3 separate regions of the Homo sapiens genome follow, and regions 1 and 3 are each linked to region 2. Evidence: promoter capture Hi-C in 16 types of primary human blood cells and fetal thymus (Javierre and others, 2016). All regions are on one chromosome and are shown on one strand. The core of a region is centred on a gene start or on the middle of the fragment in contact, and the rest is flanking DNA. Distances in the headings are between cores, read along the strand shown. Region 1 holds the start of AP1S2 (adaptor related protein complex 1 subunit sigma 2). Region 2 holds the start of REPS2 (RALBP1 associated Eps domain containing 2). Region 3 has its middle 2.9 kb from the start of CA5BP1-CA5B.

Region 1 (3,354 bases), core at 746-3,245, 1.1 Mb after region 2:
TCCTTCCCCTCCCTACCCCTACCCCCACCTTTTTTTGGCTAGGAGCAGGAAAGGAGACTGCCAGTATGTCATCAGCAAGTCTCCCGTCCTCATTTTCAGAGCAACATTAGGAGCATAATCAGAGTTTAAACTTGGAAGTGGCTATCTCAGGAACCTTCAGGATATAAGTGTTTTGTACAGAAAAAGAGAAAAGCAGCATTTGGATTCAGAGGGCGAGTTTTCATTGTGTAGCATTAGAGCTATCTTTTAACTGGTTAATGGCATCTGTTTCTTGTAGTAAGAGAGAAATGGGACATTCGAAAGCACCTTTGGGGCATGACTAGGTAGGGAGAAATCTGGTGGGGGCGAGGGGGACCTAAAGAACTACAGAAAGCCAGCTCTGTGCCGTGTGTCGTCCCCTTTCTTTAATATTCCAGTATACATTAATCATACATGTTAGTAGGAAACTTTCCAAGCAGCACAGTAGTGCTTGAAAAGGGGAAGTATTACACATTTCTTTTTGTTTTGTCATACAAAAGCATTTTTTAAAAGCCCCCAAAACTACTGTCTTAGTTTCATAGATACTATAATGTACACAAAAAGAATATAATCCCTAATAAAGGATTCCTTTACATTGATTACATTTAGCTTCGTGAAAATTTTAGCATTTCTTTTTTTACTTTAGGCCATTAAAAAAATTCTGGCGACTATACTTAGGAACCTCTGCAAAAGGGGCATGGCCCAACAAAAGCAATTTTCTCGCTTCCTTTGTAAGAACCTAGGTGACTCGGGTAATGAATAGCATTTCGATATGGGAAACCCGTGGCTCTTCAAGGAAGGTCACCTAATCCCGTGGGACTCCCCTTTCCTTATCTGTAAATGACTAGATGATTCATCCATTCTATCATTCAGAAAATTATGAACATCCATTATGCCCAGGCATTACGCTCAGCATTACAGCTCTTAACAAATTTATCATTTTATAGTCTTTATCAGTCAACTCACATTTATTAGTTGTTATATACCAGGCTGTGAACTAGATTGAGATGCAAAATGAATACAATTTAAGGTGTGCTAAATAAAGGCTAACGGGCATGTGGGTGAAAGAGGGAATCGCTCTTACAGGGTTTTAGGGTGAGGCTTCATAGATGTGACATTTGGGAGCAAGGACATGCCAGGCACAGCAAGTCGTCGGCAGTGCTAAACTGGAACCCAGGCGGCTGGTGGGGCGACCCAGTGTGAAGGAAGCGGGATCTCGAAGGTGAGGTGCTGTCCGGGCTTTTCAGCCGAACGGACGGTAACTCATCCAGTCCGCAGCACCGAGGATGGGCGAGGCGAGCCCAGGGAACAGACTCCCGCGAAGCTCGGGGCGGAAGGTGTCTGGGCTAGGGCTGGAGCAGTGCAATGGGAAGGAGAGGGCGGATTCCGGACAATTTTGAGGCAGAATGATAGCAAAAGGCCCGTGAATGCGTGACGAGCTCCACAGAAGAGCTGACTTGTTTTTCCAGAGTTGCAGCACTCCCTCGTCTCCTCCCACCCTCCTCGTCAGCCGTCACACTTCACACTTCCTCTCTGGGGACACAGAGAATCATTAGAGCTCGAACGTGGCTCTTCGCTGTCCGGAACTTCCCTGCCCCGCACCACCCGCTAGGCTAAGGACGCTGCAGAATCCCGTCCTCCTATCATTAAACAAGCAGGACAGCCGCCCGCGCGCGTCCCGGAGGCACCTGCAAGAGCGCGCGGGCGCGCGGGCGCTCGGGCCCGGCAAACGCCGCTTCCGGGTCACGTGGCCCGGCTTCCGGTTCGCACCTCCCCTCAGCGAAGAAACCTCCAATCGGCTGCCTTGGACTCAGCGGTTACCCGCGCTGCCTCCGGTGCCGCTGGCGACCGCTGAGCCGCTTCCCGCGCGTCGCCTAGCCCGCCCCTCAGCTCGCCGCAGCCCCGGCTCCTCCCTCGTCCGGCCCCCGGGGCGGGGTCTGTCAGCTTGCCCTCCCCTCTCCGCCTAAGCCTGCCCTATGCCAGCCGGGTGTCCTCCCCACAGCACCACGGCTTCTCTTCCTCAGCACGGCGACAGGGGCTTCCCCTTCGCCGCCGCCGCCGCCGCCGGCCAAGCTCCGCCGCGCCCGCGGCCCGCGGCCGCCGTAAGTCCCTGGGGGCGAAAGGGGGCGCCGGGGATGGGGGAGAGGGGGAGGGAGGACTGGGCGCGCCCCCCGCCACCCCGCGCGCGCCCCGACGACCCCACCCCGAGCCTGCCCGGCCCGCCACTGGGTCGCCGCGCCCGCAACTCACTTCTCTCCGTGTCCGCGCCCTCCGCACCACTCCGCGCCGCGCCCGGGGATGTGGGGGCCAGTCCCGGGCTCCGCGACAGCCTCGCGGCACCTGTGGTTCGGGAATCGCCTCAAGTTTTGCGGGGCGCTTTCGGGAGGGGCCGGGGGCGGTGGCGGCCGAGGACTCTTGGCGCCCCCTGCGCGGCGGCGGATGCCATTGTCTGCTCCGCTCCTTGCCTGTCACCTCTCCCGGGCTTGGTCAGTGATGGAGTGTGGCCACGGGAGTGGGGGGGAGGCACCGGCGACGGCCGGACCCGAGGAACGCTGGCCCCGAGCCCGCGCCGCGGCTGAGCCCATTGTTTTTAATGCCAGTCTCGAGGAATTGTGGTGCCCTGTGATTTGCGGCAAAATCAAAGCGTTGGTTTTTAACACGAGGGAAGGAATACTCGTGCTTTGCAACCGGGTTTCGTCCCATGTTAGGACATAATTTATTTTAAGGAGAATACATTGTTTTTTCGTCCTGCAAAGTGGTAGGGCGGATACAGGACCCTGCTCCAGACAGCCTTGAGCCCATACTCTTCGCAGGCAAACCCTCACCCTTTCTGGTCACCAAGATCTAGGAATACGAGGTCCATTCTTTTCCAAGTTCTGGTAACGGGTTTGCAGTAAATGCCCAGTTGATGCTTCACTTCCTGCCCCCTTCGAATGCCGCTATCTTCAGGACTTGCACGGGAGGCACTTTGGTATCACCTAATAATGTCCTTATATTTTGTTCCCCTGACGCATTTTAAGTGAGGTAATAAGACCATTTTAACTTTACTAAAGTTGAATTGCCACGTCATACATTTCTAGATATCTTGTTGATACCTTTTTGGGTGGTTACAAAAAGCGACGATAATTTCTTACCGAAATTTAGGGCCCATTTTTATTCTACATTGGTTCTGTAAATTTCCCCTCCCCGTGTTCAAATTCAAGATGGTGTGGTGAATCTTGAGAATCATGCTTGAATCTTATTTGCAGTAACGCTGTTAAAGGAACTTAACAGTGATTAAAAGAAAAAAGGATACCTATGTGAATTCTGCCTTTAAATTACCTTTGTAGAAACAAT
Region 2 (2,994 bases), core at 152-2,651:
TTTCACGTTTTGAACCTGATATTAACAGTCTTATCACCATGAAGTGCTGGTGACATGAAATGACAGACAAAGGCTTATCAAGTAGTCTTTCTCCAAGCTCCAAGGAAAGCACAAAACAAAAACAGCGTCTGGTATGTATCATCCCCTAGTACTTTTCCAAGTATAGAACAGCCAAAAGGTGGTAGCTATGACATCCCTTACCTTTCAATTCTATTTCAAGTCCAAGTAATGATAGATGGGAAACTACAGCTGTTTCCCATGGTGGACTTCTGAAGTCCACCTCTAATCTCAAATGGGAAATTTGGTTTTGACTTGACAAACGTCCTCTTGCAGTCCCGTGTCCCTGTTCTGCAACTTGTCATTAAGGTTTTCGATTTAATATTAATATTTAGAAATATGTTATGGGCAATTACATATAGTAGATACTTATATATTACAACTACATAGAGAGGACAACATTCAGCCCTGGGCCTCGAACCCTACGGACACACACACCCTTCAAGTTGAAATCCCAGCAAGGCACCCTGAGAACCCACTCAGGAGAGGGAGGGGCAGGAGCAGCGAGCAGAGGTTAAACCAGGCAGCAGCCAAAACAAACACCACTTCCAGAACAGGACAAACTTTGGGTCTGGGCGGCTGCAGAACCCCAGAAATGGCCGGGGGAGGGGAGAGAGTGTCAGACTGTCTCAGGGAAGGAAGATGGGGAGAGCGCACCCAGCACTGGGCGAGGAGCTGAGCTGCGAAGGAGGCTGGTGTCCCCCGGGGACAAGGGCGTCGCCGCCATCCCCGGCTGCAGAGTCCTCTCTCTCAGAACTGGCCGAGGCCTCCGGGTCCCTGGGGGCAGCCCTGTCGCCCCACTCGCAACCTCCGCCCCCGCACACACTGCCCCACAGACCCGCAGGGACAGGAGGCGGAGGGACCCACCTGGTGCAGCGTCTCGGCGGGCAGCTGCGATGCCCGAAACAGGTCAGCCACGGGGCCGGCGGCCGCAGTGGCCGTGCCGGGGGCGACTCTGGCGGCCTCGGGGGGCCCAGACCCGGGGCCCCCGCCCGCGGCGCCGGCACAGCGCGCGAAGAGCTCGGAGTAGCACTGCTGCTCGCCCTCGCTCAGCAGCAGCGGCGGCGGCCCGGAGCCACAGCCCCCGCCCGCCGCTGCCGCTGCCGCTGCCGCCGCCGCCGCCGCCGCTGCCGCCTCCATGGGGCCAGCAAGGGGGCGCGGCGGAGCCCTGTCCCTAGCTGGGGTGCTGCTGCGTCCGCCACAGCCACCGCCTCCTCGGCCTCAGCTGCCGCCGCCGCCGCCGCCGCCACCACCGCCGCCGCCACCACCACCCCCACGCCCCGCAGCTGCCGCGCGGCCGCTTCCTCCCGGCGCGCGCCGGCCCCACCCCCGGGCTTGAATGTTGTGCCTCAGCTGCGCGGCACATGGAGACAGGCGCGGCGCGGCCCAATCACAGCCTGAGATGTCACCCCGGCCCCGCCCCCGCCTCCCGCTTGCCCCGCCCAGCGCCAGGTAACTAACCCAGCGCGCCGCACGCCCTCCGCCCGTCACAGGCTCCGGTGCCCAGGAAGGCGGGCCCCGTGCCTTTCCAAGCCTACCCTGCAAGGGAGCGGAGCCTTTGGCCATCCGCCCTGGTTGGGAAGGGGGCATCTAGACCCAACTGGAGAGAAGCTCTTTTCGGGGAGCGGGGAAGGTTGTGTTGTTTTCTTGCTAGAAGGCTGGGGCAGGTGTGGTGCCCACACCACGCCATGCCCTTTCCAGAAAGGGACAAGGCATGGGAAATTAGGTTTCCTTTCTTCCATAGCAGTACTGCTTATGTCCTAAAGAGCCGGAAGACGCAGACGTCTGTACAAACAGGGTCCCACTGACCCCAGAGTGTTCAGGGTGGTATTGGAGTTAGGCCCCCTCGTCAGACATGGCTCAAACCAGGAGTTGAGACTTTATAAGGAATAACATCGGTTACTCGTAAATACTAGAGTAGTAAGAGTACAAAAAGACCCATTTTGCAGATCATTTCGTCCAAACCCTGCTTTTACAGATGAGGAAACTGCCATGTTCACCTTCATTCCTCCAAAACCAGTTGAATATCTCGTATGTAGCAGATTTATATGCTAGGGCCTGAAAATACAAACCTCAGTAACAGAGGATCCTCACTCTCCAAAGGAAGCACTTATTTTAGTAGTAAAACAGGCATTTTTTTTAGTACAAAACTTGTTCAAGCTCACACCAAAAATCAATGCGAAACCCCACATTTTTCCACCCCGGTCCATGTCCTCCTCTCTCTCTCCATTCCTCCCTATCCTAAAGCATACACACTATATTTTTCAAATGTGCTTGCTTCCCCCTGGCTAGTACTCTAACCACTTTTTTTTTTTTTTTTTTTTTTTGAGAAGGAGTTTCGCTCTTGTTGCCCAGGCTGTAGTTCAATGGCACAGTCTTGGCTCACTGCAACCTCCACCTCCCGGGTTCGAGCGATTATCCTGCCTCAGCCTCCCGAGTAGCTGGAATTACAGGCGCCTGCCACCACTCCTGGCTAATTTTTGTATTTTTAGTAGAGACGGGGTTTCACCATGTTTGTCAGGCTGGTCTCGAACTCCTGACCTCAGGTGATCCACCCCACCCCCACCCCCCCACCTCGGCCTCCCAAAGTGCTGGGATTACAGGCTTGAGCCACCACGCCTGGCCCTCTAGCCGCTTTTAAAAGAAAGTCCAGGCCGGGCGCGGTGGGTCATGCCTGTAATCCCAGCACTTTGGGAGGCCAAGGCAGGCAGATCACTTGAGTCCTGGAGTTCGAGACCAGCCTGGCCAACGTGGTGAAATCCCATCTCTACTAAAAATACAAAAACTAGCTGGGCCATGGTGGTGAGTGCCTGCAGTCCCAGCTACTTGGGAGGCTGAGGCAGGAGAATCACTTGAACCCAAGAGACAGAGGTTGCAGTGAGCCAAGATCACACCACTGCACTCCAGCCTGGGCAACAGAGCAAGACTCTGTCTCAA
Region 3 (3,290 bases), core at 782-3,281, 1.3 Mb after region 2:
TTAGAGGATGGACACTTTCCATTAGCCATTCATTCATTCATTCATTCAAGACAGATTTATCAAGTACTATGTTCCAGTAAGAAATAAGACAAGAGTCAAAGAGATCACAGACTGAGCTTCCCCAACTCAAGTTTAGATGGCACAAGAATTGAGAAAATTAAAGATGGTGTAATAAAGGAGTTGATAGGTGGAAAAGGACTTGATAAGTGCTGGTTTGTTGTTCTAATTAGCAGGAGTATTTTGGGGCAGCAAACATAGGAAGCCACTTACATAGCAGTTAGTACAGCTCCCTTCACAATAAATTCTCAATCTTCATTTAAAGTATTCCCTTTTCACTTGTATAGAGGATTACAATTTTTCCCTCCATGGCAGTGAGATTTACTATATACACTTCTACATATGCCAGTAATCAAGATTTTATGATCACATATAAAGTGTAAAAGTTCCTTTCTCTTCCCACCTTCCATCCATTTCTGCTTTGAAGACAGTGGGAACTTTCACAATATTGAGCTACAAGGAGCACAGAGTAAAAGACAATTTTCAACAAAACATTTTTTATTAAGCTCACCCTGGCTCTGAGAACTCTATCTCATTTATATAAAATGTTGCCAATGCTAATCATTTTTTGCATGAAAAATTAAACACACCGGAAATGGGATCAAGTGCAGCCTGTGTAAATTACTGCATTGATTTTTATAGCATTATTTTCTCCCAGATGATTTGAGGCCGCGTACCAAAATATAGGCAACACTGTATAAAGTAAGTATTATAGTTTAAGGAACCAGAGGGGAAATTCATGGAGGGAGAATAAATAATGTAGCCAATGGTAAGATTAACACTCAAGTATGCACACTTTCAGATCCAGAACAGTTTTTGAAGGTGGGCAAGAGATCTCACTCTAAGCTTCCATAGAAAACAGGAGATAACAAGTATTTTAAAGTTTTACGGTGTTCATAAAAACCAATCAATCAGGATTTTGTTTGCTTTTGAGAAGCACTGTTTGTTTTTTTAAAAATAATTTTTAGCCCCAAGGCAAATCCCAGTTCCTCATCATGATGACGCTGTGAGCTACGTGGGAAATAAGTGTCATAAGTTGTTACACCCACATTCCCTCAATGGAAACTGTTGGCATAATCACAAAGCACAGGGCACTGAATCAATTTCATGAACCATCCAAAATTTCCTGTTCGACTGAGTACACAGCCCCACAATGGTCTGGTTTAATTCAGGGTAGCATTTAGATAATCTTTCCCCATAATGGCACATAAGTTTCAACTCACATGTCAACTCCCATTTATTCATATTAGTGGACTGAATAGCTCAGTTGGGGTGGCTGAGTCCATGCACAGAAGGAAAAAGTTCTGAAATAGATAAAAAATGTTTGTCATGGGTGTGGGATGAGCAAATGGCTGCAAACAACCTGTCATCTCTGATTTGTAGTAATAGGGATCTCTTGTGCACATCTTTTAGGCAGTCCACAAAAACATTTCTCATAAGACTTTTGATGAATTTCAGACAGTAGAGGGTTCAGGGTCATCACTGGCCGAAACGTAGGATCAGAAATTCTGAGATATTGATTAATTCATATGTCTTTAATATTAATGAGAGCATATAACCTAAAAGTTATGTGGTCTGATCCCGCCCCCGCCCCCACACCCTTTATAGAGGTTGGCAAAAGAAGTACCTGTTGTCAGGGCTAAATGTGACTAGGTGACCTCCAACTGGTGGGCAAATTGATGATTAAGGATGGAAAATACTATTTCATAGACCATGGCTGCAATACTGTTAGCCTAGTAAAAAGAGAAAATTGACTTGCCAAATCATGAGAAAACTCTTACACCTGAGCAACAGTGGAACCAGCTAAACCTGTAAAAGAAATGTCTTGCTTTAACTACATGAGACCCATTATAAAGCATTGGTCTCCATGCACAAGATGAAACACACAGACACACATACTTTTTTTTTCCCATTTAAGAAACTGTCCTTTAAATTGCTACTTTAGGAGCATAAAGTTGGCAGAATTACACTCACTCAGTTGATCTGAATTAATTTTTATTTCCAAACGGTAGTGATTAACTTTCTCTGAAGTAGAAAAATGTTAACTTGTGAAGAATAAGACAAAGTTCATAATGATTATGGCTACTGATTAACCTACAAAATTTGATGAGCTTTTCAAATATCCTTGCTTAATATGATTTCTCATCTTAAAAAGGGGATATATGTGATGGAGACAAAAATATTCCACATTATAGAGTTTCTTGCTTACCAAGGATACTGGAAATTGTGTGTGTGTGTGTGTGTGTGTGTGTGTGTGTGTGTGTGCGCGCATAAAATTAAGCATACCAAAAGATTGTAACATCATCTGTTCTATATTCTAAAATTATTATTAAAATAAGCTCATTTATCTTTTTATTAAGATGGCCAATGAAAAATAATTTCCTGTTTTTTGTAGTCATGGGCACGTAGTGGGCTGCCAGTCCAACAGCCTGTGATTAGTAAATAAAGGGCACATTGGAAACTCACTGTCAGGGAATGTCCTTCCCATCTCCCATTGTCCTTCTCTGTGTCATTTACAATGAACCCATTCCCACATTGAAATCTTCATTAGCCTCTCAGGACCATTGTTGGAGAATCCAGACTCTCTGACCTCTAAGATCAGAACCCAACTTGGCTTTTCAGATGCATCTACACTGATGCTCTCTCCCCCATCTTCCTCTGAACCACTCTACCAGCAAGTCCCTGCTGTTGGCCATATCCTGTATCTGTCCTTTGTGTTTGTTTTCAGATTTCCTTAACTTGTATCCTGTGGGCTTTCATGTTTTATCTTTAAACATCTTGCCATTGTTCCAGGTCTATCTTGATTATCATTGAGAAACCTTTCTTCTATTTTTCTTTTGTTAACAGTTTTATAATTGACTTGTCAAATCCAGTAACTTTTTATCCTCTTTTTCTCCAGTGTTCCTATAGCATTTTGTTCACAATTGTATGTGCATCTATTGCCATCGTGATTTACTTTTGTGTCCTACAAAATTGTAAGTTCCTGAAGGGCAGAGACTATATTTGGTTCATTTTTGCATTTCTCGTAGCCCATGAATATGATAGTTTAAGAAAACTGAGTTGACTAATTTGAATCATAAACTGAAGTTCTAATAAGCTTGTGACTGGAAATTAAGTACCATGAAATGCATTGCAATGTATATATTTTTACATTCTTAGCCTTAGAGAAACCACACACACACACACACACACACACACACACACACACACACACACACACACACACACACTTG

Evidence for each region. Contacts are between HindIII fragments. The CHiCAGO score rates a contact against its expected background, and 5 or more counts as called.
Region 1: the fragment with the promoter of AP1S2 here is called in contact with the fragment with the promoter of REPS2 in region 2 in 1 of 17 cell types (naive CD8 T cells); the score reaches 5.1 in naive CD8 T cells.
Region 3: a fragment that was not itself captured here is called in contact with the fragment with the promoter of REPS2 in region 2 in 1 of 17 cell types (activated CD4 T cells); the score reaches 5.2 in activated CD4 T cells.

Annotation. Positions count from the first base shown.
Region 1 is chrX:15,853,454-15,856,807 of GRCh38, reverse strand. It overlaps AP1S2 (adaptor related protein complex 1 subunit sigma 2), which reads left to right and starts at 1,995. Exons shown (of 6, transcript NM_001272071.2): 1 at 1,995-2,120. RefSeq lists silencers at 1,579-1,688, 1,779-2,058, 2,279-2,568 and an enhancer at 1,357-1,961. The HindIII fragment of the contact is 8,276 bases long and covers 1-3,354 here.
Region 2 is chrX:16,945,065-16,948,058 of GRCh38, reverse strand. It overlaps REPS2 (RALBP1 associated Eps domain containing 2), which reads right to left and starts at 1,401. Exons shown (of 18, transcript NM_004726.3): 1 at 925-1,401. The coding sequence starts at 1,197. The HindIII fragment of the contact is 5,688 bases long and covers 1-2,994 here.
Region 3 is chrX:15,670,877-15,674,166 of GRCh38, reverse strand. It overlaps a transcript of CLTRN not described here. Among named protein-coding and RNA genes, the nearest start is that of CA5BP1-CA5B, 2.9 kb to the left of the region's middle. The HindIII fragment of the contact is 2,251 bases long and covers 906-3,156 here.